Regions from separate parts of the Homo sapiens genome. Here region 2 is linked to region 1. Evidence: promoter capture Hi-C in 16 types of primary human blood cells and fetal thymus (Javierre and others, 2016). All regions are on one chromosome and are shown on one strand. Each heading gives the region's core, a stretch centred on a gene start or on the middle of the fragment in contact. The rest is flanking DNA. Distances are from core to core; before and after follow the strand shown.

What was found. The method cuts DNA at HindIII sites, captures the fragments that hold promoters and counts their contacts. A CHiCAGO score of 5 or more calls a contact.
Region 2: a contact is called between a fragment that was not itself captured here and the fragment with the promoter of MEP1A in region 1, in 1 of 17 cell types (monocytes). The highest score is 6.4, in monocytes.

Annotation. Positions count from the first base shown.
Region 1 is chr6:46,791,481-46,795,066 of GRCh38, reverse strand. MEP1A (meprin A subunit alpha) reads right to left here and starts at 1,678. Exons shown (of 14, transcript NM_005588.3): 1 at 1,600-1,678; 2 at 1,491-1,515; 3 at 1,351-1,401. The coding sequence starts at 1,668. The HindIII fragment of the contact is 4,281 bases long and covers 696-3,586 here.
Region 2 is chr6:46,704,225-46,707,779 of GRCh38, reverse strand. It overlaps PLA2G7 (phospholipase A2 group VII), which reads left to right. Exons shown (of 12, transcript NM_005084.4): 11 at 2,479-2,627; 12 at 3,084-3,555. The coding sequence ends at 3,220. It overlaps TDRD6 (tudor domain containing 6), which reads right to left. Exons shown (of 4, transcript NM_001010870.3): 4 at 3,461-3,555. Among named protein-coding and RNA genes, the nearest start is that of TDRD6-AS1, 18 kb to the right of the region's middle. The HindIII fragment of the contact is 1,207 bases long and covers 1,393-2,599 here.

The sequences.
Region 1 (3,586 bases), core at 429-2,928:
GCAATTTTCTCTATATGATTTTCCCAATTTATGGTGTTAGAATCTGGCCATATGGCTAACCCAATCAATCCTGGTGGTTTGGTTGAAATGGCCTAAAAAGAAGATTTACATGGTAATGAGATTTCTCCACTGGGGTCAAGGATCAGAGGTGGTGGTGGGCCTAAAGAGTACAAAATGGCAAAGAGGTAAATAATTAATTTTTATTAGATAAATAATGATGAGATTAGAAAAACTCTAATTCTAATCCCATTTCTGTTGTAAAATACAGCAGATTCTCTGAACTGTTTACACAATGGCTAACTCTAAAGAGAGATATTTTAGTGCCTGGCTCTGAAGTCTTGGGACCCATTTATGCATTCACCCATTTACCTTCCTAAACTATTTCTGCTCTGCCTATGCAGCCATTCTCCAGCTATTCCAATTAAATATCAACTAACTGGCTTCTCTGTGAGTGAGACAAAGCCAGAAAAATTGACCCTTAGTTATTGGTATGTTAGTTTTGTAGCCTTCAGATAGCACTGAGCTATTAAGGTATGGGCTACAAGATCTGGAAGTAAGCCCCATCACTGCTACCTATGATCTTGAGCAAGTCACTCTACCCATGAGAAGCCACCTGTCGCTTCCCAAAAAAATGAAAACAGCACTTACTCCACGACAAGACTGGACAAATAAATATGCAATTGCATATAAAAGCTTTTGTAAACTGAAGGTACTTATTATCATGAATAGCTCTGCTTCCACAAATCCTGACCTAAGACACTGGGAATGCAGAGGCTTCTCTCTCATTTCAGAAGCAGGACAACAGAGAGAAAACAGAGATGATGACTCAGCTTCTCTCTCCTCTCAGTAATGGATGAGACTGATGAATTTCTTCAAGAAATATATTTGTAAATGAGATGTCTAAGTGGAGATTGCTTTACACTCACCCCTAAGTCTCAACCGAGGAGTTGTTAGTGAATATGATGGGCCAGTGGAGGGGTTGGGTTTTGTTTCCCCACTAAATATAACCAGAGGCTTATTCTTATATTTTTCTTTAACAATCGGAATAATTATCTATTTGCTTTCCTTTTCCTCCAAATACAAATTGGAAAAATAAAATTTTTATAAAGAGAAACTTGTTACATATTTCTAGATCCATTGAGGACTTCCTAGCTCTCCTAGAAAGTCTGGTCTAACTATCTTCTCTTTCCGCATTTTTATCTTTCAGAAAATGCAATTTCTCACAAAGCACCAAAAAATATTTCTCCCCCAGAGAATCACAATACAGTATTAGGAAGGAAAGTGTTCAGTAATCCCACCACTGGGTTTCAAGTAATTTCAAGACTTTAATAACACAAAAATTGAACTCACCTAAATTGATTTCTGAAATATCCTTCTGTTCACCAAAATCTGCATCATGTACTGTTAAAAGTGAGAAAAAAAATTATTATTAGTCTTGCCGAAGGAAAAAAGTTCAAAAACACTCTCTGTGCATTTGAACTAATTCTTACCATTTTCTTCAGGAAGATACTTAATCTGAAAAAAATAAATATACAGAAAATGGATAATGTATACTAGAATTAATATTTCTAAATATCCAAAAAGCAGGACTCGACTTACCGGTACAGCTGCTATGTGGGCAAAAAGCAAGGTAAAAAAGAGAATGCAAGTGGATCTAATCCAAGCCATTGCTGCAAGTGAGCTGATTTTAGCACACACCTTGTCATAAATACCGTTTAGACTTTACCCTGACGGTCGTATTAGAAACTTTGACCCTTCCATATGTACCGTAGTGCCAATAAAGGTTGTCAAAGATAACATCATTGACTCTTTCGAGGACAAACACTAAGTTTACCTTAAATGCTTAAGCTCCAAAGACTGGGGAAAAGTTTGAAAAATTAATACGGAAATGAGCATATAAGAACTAATAACATTCCTATAGGGCAGCCATAGCCATTCATATCATAAAACAGGATAGACGATCCCCTTAACAATAAAAATAAAAATAATTTATAAAATTATTATTATTTAATTCTAATAAAATATAAATTCAAATTTTATGGAAATGTTATAAAGCAATTATTGAAGGACATAAAAATACCTGACTCTCTCTCTATATGTACATATGTATGAAATATTAATAGATTGTTTTAATATTAATCTATAAATTCATTGTCATTCTAGTAAAAAATCTAACAGGGTTTTCAGTGGAACTTGCCAAGCTGACAAATGGTTCAATTCGCATGAAAGAGTAAACATTGAAGAATAGATAAGAAAATTCTGAAAAGGCTGAATAAAGAGAAAAGAATTGCCTCAAAAGAATATCAGGAGCTTTGGTAAAGTTACAGTAATTAGAGTGTAATAGTTCCAAAAATAAAGATAAAATGAATCTATAGACTGGAATAGGTAATATCCAAATAGATGCAAGCATATGCAGGGCTTTTATGTATAAGAGGAACCAAAAAGGCAAGAGGGAAACTTGGGTCTCTTTCATAATAATGTGGGAATAATTGCATTTCCATATGAGGAAATACATTAAATGTACACCTGATACCATTGACAAAAATAAATTCTAGATAGATTAAAAATTTAAATATGAAAATATAAACTTCAAAAAAGAAAATATAGGAACATATTTTTAACCTTTAGGTCAAGAAAGATTGCTTAAACATGAAAAAAACATAGAAATTACAGAGGAAAAGAATAATACATTTGACTGTATCAAAATTTAAACTTCTTTATGACAAAAACATAACATGATTAAAAGACAAGCCACAGGTGAGAGATGATATGTATACTGCATATAATTGAATAAGAATAAGTATTCAGGATATGTAAAGAATTTCTACAAATCAATAAAAAGAACAGGAGATTATCTAAGGAAAAAATGAACAAAAAATATGAGTAGCAAATTCACAAAAGACCCAGATGGCCAATAAATATGTAAAAAGATTTTTAGCCTCGTAAGTAATCAGAAAAATTATAGGTTCAAATAGCAGTAAAATACCACCTCAAGCTAAGATTGGCATAAATTAAGAAGACTGACAATATCAAGTGTCAACAAGAAGGTAAGAAAATAGGAAATCTAGTAGGACATCAATTTGATGCTATCTAATGAAGTTGAAATGTGCACAGTTCATAAGATAGAAACTTCACTTCTAGGTCTATATGCTAAAGGAACTCACACATATGTGCACAAAATTCCACATAGCATATTCATTGAAGTTTTTTTGTTATGGTAAAGAATGGGGAAAATGTGTTTATACTAAAAGAAAAGATAAATTATGGAATATATTCAGCCATGCACAGGTAAATGTTTAATAATCGGCTCTTTTAAAAAAAGTAAAAACAAACAAGCAAACAAACAAAACCAAGCCTTTATTTGTAGTGTTTGTTGATTGCCATGGTCAATTTCAAGCTACCAACACCATGTCACTGAATGCAGTGTTGGGAAGAGATGTACACAGTGGGCTCCATCTGCGCCAGCACAATACTAAATATATGCACACACCCACCTATTCTTGCCTGCACCAGATATAAGAATCTTTGGCATTAGAGCAATCTTCAAGGTCTAGAGCCTGCATCTCTCTACCTCAGACTTACTACT
Region 2 (3,555 bases), core at 747-3,246, 88 kb after region 1:
TATTAGTCTGTTCTTGCATTGCTATATGGAAATACCTGAGACTGGGTAATTTATAAAGAAAAGAGGTTTCATTGGCTCACAGTTCTGCAGCCTGTACAGGAAGCATGATGCTGGCATCTGCTCGGCTTCTGGGGAGGCCTCAGGAAACTTACAATTATGGTGGAAGGCAACCGGGGCATGAGCACTTCACATGGCCAGAGCCGGAGGAAGAGAGGGATGGGTGAAGGTACTACACACTTTTAAATAACCAGGTCTCACAAGAATTCACTGTCACAATGACAGCACCAAGGGGGATGGTGTGAAACCATGAGAAACTGCTCCCATGATCCAATCACCTCCCACCAGTCCCTGCCTCTGACACTGGGGATTCCAATTTGACATGTGATTTGGTGGGGACACAGATCCAAACTATATCACTGGTAATTAAAATTAGCATTATACTACATGCTACTTCAATCTAAACACCAGAATATGCCTACAGATTTTTGGGGGTAGAGCTAGGGGGAAGTATTCCATCATTAGGCTGGGGTAGGAACTCTTTAAAGAAAAAGTCAGATTATCGACTGAGACCTGCAATATACTAACCTGTTGAGAAAGAATATGAGTTTATAAATTCCCCAAAGCTATAATGGGGTACCATGACGTGTTGGCAATTCTTGTATCCTGGAGGTGAAAAAGAACTCCTGATAAGGTTTTGAACTCTCGATGAGATATTACAAAGCAAAGATGGACCTGAACTCACCCCTTTCCTATCTGAAATCTGGTTTATTTAGGAGAAGAGAAGAGGCAGGAAGGAAATATATGGAGTATAGGCAATAAACACTATGGGCTCAGAGAATAGAGGGGTCTCTTCCAACAGAAAAGGATTCATAGATGACACTAAAATTGGATTTTGTAAGATCAAGAGAGTTTAGATAGTAAGGAAGGGTTTAGGTATTTCAGGCAAGGACTTCATTTAGCTTATGTGTATGTGCAACTCTTTCTAATTCTAAAACGGAAATAATACAGAACACCTAACCTTCCCTCAACCCTATTTCCTTACTAAGCTCTCACCTTTGCTTTTGTCCCTTCTCTGCTAGAAACCTTCAAAGAATAGCCAATATTAGTCATTGCATGTGCTTACTTCTATTCACTCTTTGACTCTTGTGGTCTAGCTTCCTGGGCCCCCACGGGCATGCCAAAACAAAGACACTAAAGGCCTGCTGCCTGCCACACCAGCAGCCTCTTCAGAGTCTCAACCTTGCTCTCTGCATCTGTTCAACATTGCTGACCACCCCTCTTCCTGCTCCCTTGGCTACTATGACCCACCTCTTTGCTGCTTCTCCTGTCATTTATACCACTCCTTCCATTTCTTCTCCTCTGGCAGTTCTCTACAGTCAGATCATCCAAGCTTCTGCTCGCAATTCTCTTGTATTCCTGCTGTTTATCTTCTTTATGTTTCTGACATTCAAGTTTCCTACTACAATGTGGGGAAGAGTGAGAGGGAGTTAAGTGGCCCTGTTTTGAGCTTAGATGACTAAAAGAATGATGGGTTGCTTATAAGAACCAGCAGAGTCAAGAGGCAGAGCAGCTTTGGGCAGGACTGGGAAGATGTCTTTTAACTTCACAATTTCTTAGCTTGAGAACTGAGGAATCTGTACACAGATGTCTGGCCACACATTGGATGATTACATAATTTACATGATAACACAGATGAAACATTTGAAGTAGAAGAGATTGCAAAGTGAGAAAAGAGTTGGTCTGCCAGTAGAATCCTAAGGAATGCCTACATTCAGCCAATGGGAAATGGGTGAAGAGCCAGTGAAGAACATAGAGTGGTTAGCGTCAGAAGGGAAGGTGCAATGTTAAGGAAACGTAAAGAAAAAAAGTGCAAGAAGGCCATCAAGTGTCAAATGTCCCAGTGGTGGTAGAAAACGAGGACTTAAAAAAGGCCATTCTATTTGACGTTAGGCTATTGATGAATTTACAGAGCAGTGCAAATGATATTTATAAAGTGCTTACAGTTTAATACTGGGAAAAGTGGTGTTTGAAATCTGTTTCCTCTAAGGCTTAAATCTAAAGTGATTTAAATTTAAAGTGACTAGCATCAAATACATACCACGTTCAGTGGTGAGGGCAGGTAGCAGGCTCTGGCTCTGAGTTCAGGGACCCTTCAATACAGAACACATTCCAGTATTCAAACTGGAAGTATTCCAATTCACTAAAAAGCAAGAATCATTTCTTCTAAAATCAAGATACCAAGCAAGAACAAGATTCTTTGAGTTGTATTTCTAGAGGGAAGAAGAATATACTCTGGGATCCCTAAACAAACAGCCTGTGACCCTTGAAACACATCTAAGTAGATCAAATTACAAGTTTTATTTCTTCTTTGGTTTTCAGTAAACAGACCAACAAGACCAGTACCTTTCTTACACTCTAACTAAAAAAATAATAATTTTATCAAACAATGTGACTTTTAAATGTCTTGTTCTCTTTTAGGGGTTCAGTCCACCAGAATTTTGCTGACTTCACTTTTGCAACTGGCAAAATAATTGGACACATGCTCAAATTAAAGGGAGACATAGATTCAAATGTAGCTATTGATCTTAGCAACAAAGCTTCATTAGCATTCTTACAAAAGCATTTAGGTAAGAAACTATTTTTTTCATGACCTAAACCAGATGAATCTCAGGACAAAGCTGTCTATCTTAATACAGCTTTAGTACTATTTAAACTATTTCCAGTTGGTTTACAATGGAACAAAGCAGTATATCAATTTGAAAACAGAAATTTGAGAAAGTCAATTTTGCTGCTTTACATCCTCTATATCATAGAAAGCAAATCCAACTGTTAAAGGTAATATTCTTTGTATGAAGCCTAGAGTGGACTTCCATGTTGAGGATACTGACAGCAGGTTGCCTCACTCCTATCCCGTTTGCATTCAGCTGCTAAAGCAGCCATGAGGCAGCTGATACAGAGCACATCGTCTCTACCATCCTAACGGAACTTGTGTAATTTGTAAATCTTTATTGCCACCTAGGGGCACCAAACTGTTTAATGCTCTCAAAAGTTTAATATGTTGATTAACACTTTATATTTTATAGGACTTCATAAAGATTTTGATCAGTGGGACTGCTTGATTGAAGGAGATGATGAGAATCTTATTCCAGGGACCAACATTAACACAACCAATCAACACATCATGTTACAGAACTCTTCAGGAATAGAGAAATACAATTAGGATTAAAATAGGTTTTTTAAAAGTCTTGTTTCAAAACTGTCTAAAATTATGTGTGTGTGTGTGTGTGTGTGTGTGTGTGTGAGAGAGAGAGAGAGAGAGAGAGAGAGAGAGAGAGAGAATTTTAATGTATTTTCCCAAAGGACTCATATTTTAAAATGTAGGCTATACTGTAATCGTGATTGAAGCTTGGACTAAGAATTTTTTCCCTTTAGATGTAAAGAAAGAATACAGTATACAATATTCATATCAGCCTAAATTTTAATTTTAAAGATGATTCCTTTTCAGTGTCGAAGTTAAAAACTGTTTTTACATTACTTTGACAGACAAGTAGATTA